2 separate regions of the Homo sapiens genome follow, and region 1 is linked to region 2. Evidence: promoter capture Hi-C in 16 types of primary human blood cells and fetal thymus (Javierre and others, 2016). All regions are on one chromosome and are shown on one strand. The core of a region is centred on a gene start or on the middle of the fragment in contact, and the rest is flanking DNA. Distances in the headings are between cores, read along the strand shown. Region 1 overlaps CASQ2 (calsequestrin 2). Region 2 holds the start of SLC22A15 (solute carrier family 22 member 15).

Region 1 (5,733 bases), core at 251-2,750, 250 kb after region 2:
AGTCAGTGAGCTGAAGCAGGGAAGGGACGTGGTGGGATGAGATTGCATTCAGTTCATGTATATGATGAACCACTTCTGTAGACATGGCCCAGTCTTCAAGCCTATGATCCAGAAGAGTGCTCTATAATCCAAGTAACATAATCTAAACTTGAAGAATGTTTATCCTAATTAGTTGTATTACAGTTGGGAGGGATCTTGAGCAAGAATAATCAAAAAAGCTATCATGTATTAAGTGTCTATTATGGGCCAGGTGCTGTGGCTCACACCTGTAATCCCAACACTTTGGGAGGCTGACGGGGGTGGATTGCATGAGCCTTGGAGTTGGAGACCAGCCTGGGCAACATGGTGAGACCCCATCTCTACAAAAAATACAAAAATTAGCTGGGTGTGGTGGCACACACTTGTAGTCCGAACTACTTGGGAGGCTTGAGGTGGGAGGATCACTTGAGCCCAGGAGGTTGAAGCTGCAGTGAGCTGTGATCATACCATTGTACTCCAACCTGGGCAATGGAGTGAGATCCTCTCTCAAAAAATAAAAATATAAAAAATAATAAATTCAAAAAAATTTTTATGTGCCAGAGTCTGTGCTAAGAAGTCTCTTTGTGCCAGAGTGTGTGCTAAGAAGTTAACATGGATTTTCTCACTTCATCCTTTCAACACTCCCATAAGGGAGGAATTAGTATCCTCATTCTACAGAGGATGAAACTGAGGTGCTGAAAGATTAAGTGATTTTTTCATGATCATGTAGTTACTGAATTGAGAAGCTTGCTATAATCTCAGACCAGCCTGACTTCAAAGTCAATGCTCTGTCCTACTTTACTCCAGAGAAAGAAGCAATATATGCAAACTGCCTAGCTGGTTTTTGGCACACAGGAAGCATTCAGTAATAGTTAGCCAGCTATGAGCACCATTGTTCATAAGAAAGCAATCATCTAGGCCCAGGAAGTGGGAGGATTGGATAGGATATTAGTAGAGAAAGGGAGGAACAGAGAAGCCGAAACTGAATCCATTACTGACATATGGTTCTGATGGACCATTTGGTTCTAATGGACTAGGTGTGGCTAAAGAGGCTCCTGGGTAAGAATCCAGCTGAAAGGAATAGAGAGGCAGGCCAATTAATTTGTCCAGCAACAAAGCCTTAGTTTTTAGAGGGGTGGTTCAACGTTGAGCTCAGGGTAGTATTTGTTTGTAGAAGTGCCTCCTAGTGCAACTGTATAGCTTCATGCCTGTGGTCCATGAAAAAGGTGAGGTCAGGCTATGATTAAAAATTCAGAGAGATGCTTTATTCAAATTCTGTAGGACACTGAGTCATAAGTGCCAGTGTTCATGTAGCCTTGTTGGATTTCAGAATATTTAAAGAGACAAAGGTACACAGAGGGGAGAGCACTGAGAGGACTCTGATGCCATTTGGTGCTTAAGAACTTGCATCCATCAGTTGGGGTGGAGGGGGTGTCCAAGGGGAGATGGTGGAGTCCAGAAGGCATGACTGCACCTGGTAGAGCCTCAGTGGTTTCCAGCAGGGAGTGCTAGGACAGAAGAGGAGAAAAGTAATAAATGTGAAGTGGCTGAAAGGACCTGTTTGTACAACACATCCTAGGGAATCTCAGAGGGACCTGGAGGTGCTTTGTTGAGGTCTGAAACCAGGAGAGGCAAGGGACAAGAAAGCACTAATGCGGTCACAAAAATGCAAAAAACAACTGGCACTAGTAAAAGTGGATATAACAAGAAGATCTGGCCATTGATGAGATGATGAGAGAAGGCCTCAAAATAACTTAAGATAGCAAGTCTTGGCGTTAAGACAGCAAAAATTATGAAGCTACTGAAAACATTAGGAAATCCAGGAAGAAGAATCTATTGAGGAACAAGAGATGGGGTTATGAGTTCTATTTTCTAAAAGTTGGGGAAACATTCAACTGGAAATGTCCTTAATTAATTAATTAATTAATTCAGTCATTCACTCAACAAGTATTTATTGAGTGCCCTTTATGTGCCAGGCACTCTTCTTAGTGCCAGGGACACAACATTGAGCAAAGCAGATTCCTGCCCTTTAGAATTTAAAGTTTATTGTGGGAAAGAGAAGATGGAAAGACAGAAAGTTCAAAAGTAAACAAACCAATAAATACATCATATGAGTTGCAAGACTGTAAAGAGGGTGAGATGTCATGGCTGCTGATGTAAATTTGTCAGTCAGTAGTTCCCAACCACTATCCATATTAGTATCCTCCAACAAGCTTTTAAAACCATTGGTCTCTGGGCCCCAGCCCTGGAAATTTTAATTTTTTAGGGTTGTGGCAGTGTCTGGGAATCTGCATTTTCAAAAGCCACCCAAGGAATTTTAAAGGGTGTGGAGGTTTAGGACCAGTACTGATCTATTAATACTAATCCTAAATCAAGCCACACGAAGGCCCAACCTCTCTGAAGAAGCAGTTAGAACAAGAAAGTGTCAGAGGGCCAAGGATGGTTCCACTCTGCTGCACCTCACAGCCTGAAAAATATCAGTTCTTAAAATCCCATGTCCCCGCCCACTGACCTGTTCCTCTCTCTGTCTGAGTGAACAATGAGACGAAAAATCACTTTCTTTTTTAAATCACACTGGAGCCAAAGGGTGCTGTGACTAAACAAAGTTAGTGGAGAAGATAGATGTTGGGAAGACCTAAATTTAGTAATGGCAAAAACCATTACTTTTGGCAAAAACTGCGATTACTTTTGCACCAACCTAATACTTGAGTTGGTTTCATTGGCAACAACTAAAATGACTTGCTAACTGGAGGAAAAATGATTTGTATCAAAATTCATATACATGCACATGTCAGAAAATTGGCATTGTACTTTGTAGTTTTCTTATCTTTGTTGAAATCTATTCCAACTAGTTAACAGATAAAAGCATGAAAGAATTCATTTTTATGGACCCATTTGGTTCTTAATAATATAATTCATTCTTATATAATGCTAATACCCATGAACCAGATCTCCTCCTGGAATAATGCCTTGGGTTCAGTAGGCCCCACTAAATACTTACTGAATAAATGAATGAATAAAAGCTTCAACCAATCAAATCCCTTCAGTCCTTACCATCCAAGATAGGAATAATAAGAATGAAAGAGGGGGTCGGGCGCAGTGGCTCACGCCTGTAATCCCAGCACTTTGGGAGGCCGAGGGGGGAGGTGGATCACCTGAGGTCAGTAGTTCAAGACCAGCCTGGCCAACATGGCGAAACCCCATCTCTACTAAAAATACAAAAATTAGCTGGGTGTGGTGGCCTGTGCCCATAATCCCAGCTACTCGGGAGGCTGAGGCAGGAGAATCGCTCGAACCTGGGAAGCGGAGATTGCAGTGAGCCGAGACTGTGCCATTGAACCCCAGCCTGGGCAACAAGAGCAAAACTCTGTCTCACCAAAAAAAAAAAAAAAAAAAAAAAAAAAAGAATGAAAGAGAGGGATTCTCTGAGATACAAGATGAGAGCACTCCATGATGGTGGTAGGTAGACAGTGAAGAGATCCCTGGGAAATTTTTACTTAGCATTTCCAAGACTTAAATTAAGGACACGACAATCCAATTTTTACATTCTTAGACAGCACTGTGGACCCAGACATTGGCATTCAGAGACGAGACTATCACCACCACCAGGCGGGTTTGACTTCTGGCTCTGCTCCCTCCAGATATATGATCCTGACAAATTTCTTACCCAAATTGTGCCTCAGGTTCATCATTTGTAAAATAACTATGATAATCATTCTTACCACATACAATCAAAGTGAGAATTAAACAAAGAATCAACCTAAAACACCTGGCAGCAGTGCCTGGCACGTGATAAGCACTCCATATGTTTGTTATTATTACTGTTTTCATTCTGATCACTTCTCCTTTCATGGAAACAGTCTTCTGGTTCCTAGAATACATAGTAAGTGAACTCAGAAAACCAGAATTCAATGTCATTTTCTTGCCCACTCTGGCTCCCTGCCTCATCACCTCATCATCTACATCACCCCCCTACCCCTGAGAAGAGGGAAAAACAGTTAGAAAAAACTCCACATCTCCCTCTCTTAAAATTAACCTGACAATAAAATCTCCCTTGACTGACTATAGCTGTCAACATGGCCTGTTTTCTTGATCTCTGAGTAGGATGCTGGAATTTCTCTCCCTTAAGTACTATATGAAATGCCTTTCAGAATATAGTGACCTGGAATTCATAGCAATTGATGACAAAAACCATATGGATATCAATGTTTCCTCAGAATGGATCTCCTTGTGTAAGAGCTTATGCAATACCCAGCTCCTCCCCTTCCCCAGTTAGTTGCAGCCGCCCTGGGTCACGGCACCACGGGTTACCACCACAGTGCATCAGCTCTTAGGCAATTCCTCTTCAGCTTAAAGGGAACCACTGTTCATCCCTGCGCTTTCTTGAACCACAGCTCTGAACTAGAAAAGAGTGGCATTTGGTTTTCTATAGAGCGTTGCACATTCCAGGCCTCTGAAATCATTTCACAAACAGAGGTCCTGAGTTCAGCAGCTGTGCAGGCAAACAGCAACCATTCTGCCTTGACAACACACTGAACATGTGGCTGCTTTAATCCAGAGAGAAAATGTCTTCCTGGCTATCGGCTGGCTCTCCGAGCTCTTTATCTGTTGTAAGATGAGCAAATCATCCTGGCTTACTGGGGTCTGTCCAAGTTTCAGTACTGAAAGTCCTGCATCCCAGGGAGCCCTTCCACCCAGAACAAAGCAAGATGGTCAGTCACCTCATAACTGCTGACAAACTGGGCAGCTCCCAAAGCCTGACAAACCATGAAGCAAGTTGGGTACTGAGAGATTTAACTGTAGGGCCAGCACTTCAACCTAAAAAGCAATTAGGGCTATGAGCAGATCAAAGACAGGCTAATGGGTTGGGTTCTGATTCTGAGTACCTATATGCCTTAAGGATCTCCATCAATTGCCTGTTTTATCAACATTGGTTCCATTAAATCCATACAACACAGGATAGTAAATATGCTCCATTGGCATTTGCTTCCCATCCAGCCCTGGCAAATGCAGTAGAGTGATGGTGATTGTAGAATTAAATTTCCCACTTCGCATCTCAACTGCTCCCTGCCCCTGCCCGACCCTCATTTGCTAGATAAGTCTTTTTCCTTCCTATCTTTCCTTCTTTGATCACAAAAGAAGATTAGTCTAGCCAGGCCTTGGGTGATAAGTTCCTGTCACTTCAACATTGAAGTTAAAACTGTACATCTGTTTTTATGTCTTTGCCGGAAAACATACACACTTATCTTAGATGGACAACACACTGCTATTCTAGACTAGTATTCAAATAAACTTTGTCTTATTTCTAATGGTTACAGGTTGCAAAGAAATTATCTTTGAAGATGAATGAGGTTGACTTCTATGAGCCATTTATGGATGAGCCCATTGCCATCCCCAACAAACCTTACACAGAAGAGGAGCTGGTGGAGTTTGTGAAGGAACACCAAAGGTGCCTGAGATGGCATGTGGGGGCTGGGGGCCTGGGGTCTGGGGAATGGAGAGGAGCCTCTCTGTGCTAACATTTCAGACCTGCCAAGAGCAACAACCTAGTTAGTACCCCAGCAGTACAGAACTCAGTAGTATGGCTTTGTTGATCAGTAATGACTAGCAGGGATGTTATTACTTCTGAATCTAAGTCTGCACCTGCAAGCAGAGTTTGATAAATCCCTCAGTCAGCAAATCCCCTCAAAGCCAGGGCAAGATATAAATAAAATT
Region 2 (5,837 bases), core at 1,591-4,090:
AAGTTGAATGCTATTGAGATTCCAAAAATTGTGTTTGCAAGGAGTATGAGGGCAAGTCTCCTAGCCAAAGGAAACTGGATAGTGAAGTAACTTTTGATGATCTACATGATGGTACCAATAATTCAAGAAAACAGTTAACCAAAAACCCTTTAGAATTGGCTTTGCTATGTGGTTTTGTCCTCTTAGTTTGAACATAGATGTGTTTGGGGTAAAGGGAAAATCATTTTTAAAAATAATAATAATGGTCCCAGAAGAAGGAAAATGTTAAAAGGCCTGTAAAATTTCCACCTCTGTCCTTCTGGTTTTGTGCCTCTCAGCTGGGGTTAATCATTATCAAATCGCAGATGGGGAGAAGGCTCCCACTGAAGCAGAGGCTCCCTCTCTCTGGCCTTGTTGCTGTGTTGTTGGTCTGCCCCTTCCTTGGGCAATGGTACGAAAACTCCTTTGATTTTAAAAGCAGAAAAACCCCCTTTCATTTAAGGCAACTGTGTAAAAAGGGCTTCTTACTCTGCTGGGGGAAGCAAAACCTCATCCCCAAGAATGATGAAATCACCTGTGATACAACTGAGCAATGGGACTCCACAGTACTCCCACTCCACAGACCAGCTGCCGTAATACAAAACATCTCCAACAACAGACTTGGTAGAGAGGTCTTTGGGGATATCCACTCTCATACCCAGGGTAGCTCTGGGTGGCTCTACAACCCCCTGGATCATGTATCTCAATGGGGTAACTGAGTCCTTAAAAACACGTAGCATGTGAAGGATTCACTTTTGCCTAGGCTGGCATCTCCTCCACTGGTATAAGCACAGCTACAGGGCATCTTCCCACCCACATCTATAAGATAAACAATCAGTCACTCATCCCCAACACTCTAAGACCTGGTCCTTGTACCGCAAATACTGACCATAAATCATCCAAGGTTTAGTGAACGGTCATAGGCATGGGCTTGGAACTTTTTGATAGCAAACTCTAACTAACTGGGTCAACCATAAATAAAAGTAAGTTAGAGAAACTTAACAGGTCCTAAACCGAGAACACTGGCCTTTTTAGAACCTCACTCTACTGAAGACAAACTTACTCCAAGTTAGTGGATACTTGGCTAGGCAAATAAGAAAATGATAACAGGAAGTGAAGGGTAGGGATAGAGGGATGGGGAGCTGGGATTGTTCAAGAAAGGATGTATGTTCCTGGAATTCATGGCTGGAACAGAAAAAAAGGGTTTTCTCAAAGAAACTGTTATAAATAAAGATCAGGCATCATGGTTGCAATTCTTCTTTCTCGGTATTAAATACTCTTATCATTTAGCTTGAACGTTTTTTCTCCCTGGGGAAAGCTTGTTTAAAGCTAAAACAACGAGCTTAAAAGAACTTCAGAATACCACATATTCGTGAGCTGAGAACTGTTCGGCTAGAAAAAGAACTGACTCCATCATTTGAACCGTTTCTGGCTGATGATGAAATCAACTGAACTTCCAAACATTTTAATCAATAAGTCAACCCCTACCTTCCCCCATCTTCCTGTTGAGCCACTGTCTTATGCAAGCTTTAAGCAACTTGTGGACTGGTGGCTATATCCATGACCACTCTGTACTTCCTGCAGAATAACTATCATCACATGCTAACTAAATTACTTAACTGTCTGCCTGCCCCACCCGCAGCCACTGGAATGCAAGCTCCTGAGGGCAGTCAATGATTTGTCCACCATGGCATCCCTATGTTCAGCACATCCTAGCCCGTATTAAACCTGATGACTGAAGGAAAGAGTAAAATGGCTGGCTCACAGCAAATACTAAGAAAGGATTTGTGAATGAAATGCCTCTGGCATATTGAGAGAAGCGACTAATGTCAAATGAGCCATTTAAGTTGGTGAAGGACTAATCCTTGCCTGGCGCAGTTAATCTGTAGTGACCTTTCGCATATGGAATCGATATTTTGAGGCTGGGGTGTACAAGTAGGTTCTGAGAATTCTTTATAATGAAGAAGTGATTCCATTTGATAACCACACATGGTAGATGGCACTATTCGGCTCACGGGAGTCTCAGCCCAAGGCTGGCGCAGGGCCGAATGAGCCAGCAGAACTTAAACCAGAGGGAAATAAATCCTATGCTTTGAAAGCCCCTAGAAGAGTAAGCCCCCTCAAGCCCAGGAAAAGAGGCAGAGGACACCCGGCGCAGAGGGAGGCGATCCTAGACACAACCTTTTGTCTGCAGATTATCAAGACTGTGTCCTAGATTCCAAGGTGACAGTGCCACAGGTAGGGTAACAATTCCCTTCATATTTGCAGCGTGTTATAGGCAACAGCGTAGGGCAGGTAACACAATTTTGCATCCCTCCTTAACCAGCATAGCGGCTGAGAAACCTCCCCCAACACGCTCCTTCCACCACTCAAGGTGGCGGGGTGGAGGGCCCAGCAGAACCCAAGAGGCTCTGAGGCCGGCCGGCGACCTTGACGCTGCCGGCCGGGCCCAGGCCACCGCGCGGCGCCTCGCCCCTGCCCCACCCCGACGCTCGCCACACCTCGGTGTTTGCAGAGCCTCGGCCTCGGCCCCGGCCCCGGCGGTCTGGGAGCGGACGCCTAGCCCTGCGCCGGGCGGCCCTGAAGAGGGAAATGCGGCTGCGGGGCCGCGGGGACTTACCTGCAGCAGCACGGCCAGCAGGAAGCACAAGTACATCTGGTAGATGCCCATCTCCCCCACCGCCTGGAACGCCTCCTCCACCTCCATGGCGGGCCGCGCGCAGGAACCCCGCCACCCCACCGCCCTCTCAGGCGCTGCCCTCCCGCCCAGCGCGGCAACCCCTGGGCGCCCGGCACCGGCTTGGACCCGCCGGGGCGGGGATGGAAGCGCTGGCGGCGGGGCCGGGGCGGGCCGGGCCGGGGCGGGGCGCCTGCGCGGGCGGCGGGGCTGTCAGGCTCGAGAGGTGGACGCCGGGCGGGGAGCGGGGAGCGCAGCCGGGCTACGCGGGGCGAGGGGCGAGGAGGGCGTTCGAGATCCGGGGCTGGATGCCCTGGACCCGGGCCTCTGGACTTCCTGTTTAAAAAAAAAATGGTGTTTTGGTGTACGTTTTGTTTTGAGAGGGACCGCTGTCTGCGCCTTAAAGTGAGGAAAGAGGAAGTGGGCCGGGCTGAGGGCCTGAGAAGAAACATCGGGACCGCGTCCGCGTGTGACCCAGGGCTCTGCCTACAGGGGACCCGCAGCTGGCGGGCGGCCTGGCGGCTCTCAGCAATGCCTGTCGTTTTGCCCAAACCAGTTTAATGCGGGGGCTTGGGGAGCCCTAGAGCCTTCAGAGAAAAGTGCTGTCTGTGCAGCATTTCTTTCCAGTCCTATTCTGTGCTAGCCATGGGTTAAGTACACTGGTAGGCAAGCAAATTCTTGTAAAACCGTCGGATACATTTGCTTATAGAAGTATGCACGAGGTACAAAGGAAGTGCAAAAGACGAAGGGGCAGGATGTGATGGCTGCCAAGGTATTTAAAGGATAAACGGCAGTTTGTCAGGTGGAAATTAAAAAAAAAAAGCGTGGCAGGGCCAAGGGACGCTGGACACCTGCGTTAGTCCCCTCATGCCTCCACCTCCTAACCTCATTTGCCTTTTTGTTTATTATGTGTTGTCTTTTTAACAGCTGCATAGTATTCCATTGTCTAGACCATGACTTCTAGTTTAACATTGAATAGAAATGGCGACCAGCTAGTGTCCTTGACCTGCCAGTATCCTTCTTATGCTTCCAAAATTTTCCGTTAATTGTGATGTCTGTTGCAGCGTATTGGTAGCTAGGCTTTACTGGTCAGCTGCTTTCTTTTTTTAGCAATTAAATGAATGCTCACTGTAATTGAATTTATCAGTGGGTTGGAAACTGTAAACTCTATAAACTCTTAAGATTTTTTTCTCTCTCTTACTTAAGGAAACGTTTTCTGTATAAGTACTATTAATAGTTTAAAAAGTTTCCTTCTTTGGCTGTTTCCTACGAATCCTCATTATTAATAAATGCTGAAGTTTAATAAGTGCTTTTTGCATTTATTGACATGATCCTATTGTTTTTCTTCTTGAATCTGATAATCGGGTACATTATGGTAATAGTTTTTTTGATATTGAACTTTACTGGAATAAATCCTATTAATACTTGCTCACGATATTGCTATTTATTGCCAAATTTAATTTGCTAGTGTTTTGTCTAGGGACTTTACATCTGTGACTAGCGAACTAGGCCTATAATTTTCTTTTCTTCCTGATGCTTATGTCTAGATTTGGCAGTAAGATTTTATAGTGCTTTCATAACATGAGTGTGAGTGTTTGGTAAAACTCTCCTGCAACCATCTAGACTTAGCTTGTTTTGCAGGGGGAGCCTCTTTATTACAGATTTATAGATAATGGGTAAAGATAAATAGGTGTGTATAACTAGATATATTCGTATGTCTTTGCATTTCTTCTTGAACCACTTTTTTTCTAGAAATGTTTCTATTTTATCTAGTTTAGAAATTGTTTTTGGAATAAACTAGTTCATATTGTTTTCTTGGGATTTTTAAAAATAAGGGTCTAACTGTTTATGTCCCATTTTTCATTCTGAATAGTGTTCATCTTTATTGTTCCAATCTTATCAGTCTTGCCAGAGGTTTGTCTACTTTATTATTTTTTAAAAAGTTTTGTGAATTTTTTTATTTCATTGATTATATGAATTCTTTCCTTTTTTTTTTTTTACTTTTGTTACTTTGTAATTCTTTTACTAGCCACATGACTTGAAGTTTAGCTTCTTTGCTTTTAATATTTCTTTTTGAAGAATAATTATGTGTGGCTGGGCTCAGTGGCTCACGCCTGTAATCCCAGCACTTTGGGAGGCCAAAGCTGGTGGATCACCTGAGGTTAGGAGTTCAAGTCCAGCCTGGCAAACATGGTGAAACTCCGTCTCTACTAAAAATACAAAAATTAGCCGGACGTGGTGGCACAGGCCTATAGTCCCAGCTACTCAGGAGGCTGAGGCAGGAGAATCACTTGAACCTGGGAGAAGGAGGTTGCAGTGAGCTGAGATTGTGCCATTACACTCCAACCTGGGCAACAGAGCAAGACTCTGTCTCAGAAATAAATAAATAAATAAAATAATTATATTTAAGGTTGTACTTACCTTTCTATAGGACTTTGCTCCATCCGACAAGTTTTGTCATGTGGTACTTTTGTTGTCTTTACTTTTAAATATTTCATGACATTGTCATTTCTTCTTTAACCAATGAGCTATTTTTAGTGCATTTTTTGTTTCCAATTAAAGGTTGCTATTTTTTTTACCATCTTTTTAGTGTTGTTTATAATTTATATGCTTTGTAGACAGAGATTATATTAAATCTTGGAAATTGTTTTAATTTTTTGTGACCTAATATGTGATTTTTCTCTTTTTATTCTTTTTTTTTTTTTTTTGACAGTATCTTTCTCTGTCACCCAGGCTGCAGTGCAGTGGCTTGATCACATCTCACTGCAGCCTTAATCTCCCCAGCTCAGGTGATCCTTCCACCTCAGCCTCCCAGGTAGGTAGAACTATAGGCAGACACCACCATGGCTCATTTTTATTTTTTGTAGAAATGGGGTTTTGCCATGTTGCACAAGTTGATCTCAAACTCCTGACCTCAAGTGATCCACCCGCCTCAGCCTCTCAGAGTGCTGGGATTACAGGTGTAAGTCACCATGCCCAGCCCGTAGCCTTTTTTTTTTTTCAATGTTCCACGTGTATTGAAATAACATATATTCTCCACTTGTTGTGTGCAAGATTCTCTAACTATTAATCAAACTTGTTGATCTAATTTTATTTAAGTAGTCTATATTATTACTTAATTTTTCTGTGCTGAATGTATCAG

The links. Contacts are between HindIII fragments. The CHiCAGO score rates a contact against its expected background, and 5 or more counts as called.
Region 1: a fragment that was not itself captured here is called in contact with the fragment with the promoter of SLC22A15 in region 2 in 1 of 17 cell types (monocytes); the score reaches 5.7 in monocytes.

The regions. Positions count from the first base shown.
Region 1 is chr1:115,726,726-115,732,458 of GRCh38, reverse strand. CASQ2 (calsequestrin 2) reads left to right here. Exons shown (of 11, transcript NM_001232.4): 6 at 5,337-5,467. Among named protein-coding and RNA genes, the nearest start is that of CASQ2, 39 kb to the left of the region's middle. The HindIII fragment of the contact is 1,467 bases long and covers 767-2,233 here.
Region 2 is chr1:115,973,516-115,979,352 of GRCh38, reverse strand. SLC22A15 (solute carrier family 22 member 15) reads right to left here and starts at 2,840. Exons shown (of 12, transcript NM_018420.3): 1 at 2,639-2,840. The coding sequence starts at 2,725. LOC101928977 (a long non-coding RNA gene) reads left to right here and starts at 2,077. Exons shown (of 5, transcript NR_125970.1): 1 at 2,077-2,256. RefSeq lists silencers at 2,454-2,703, 2,764-2,993. The HindIII fragment of the contact is 7,335 bases long and covers 1,548-5,837 here.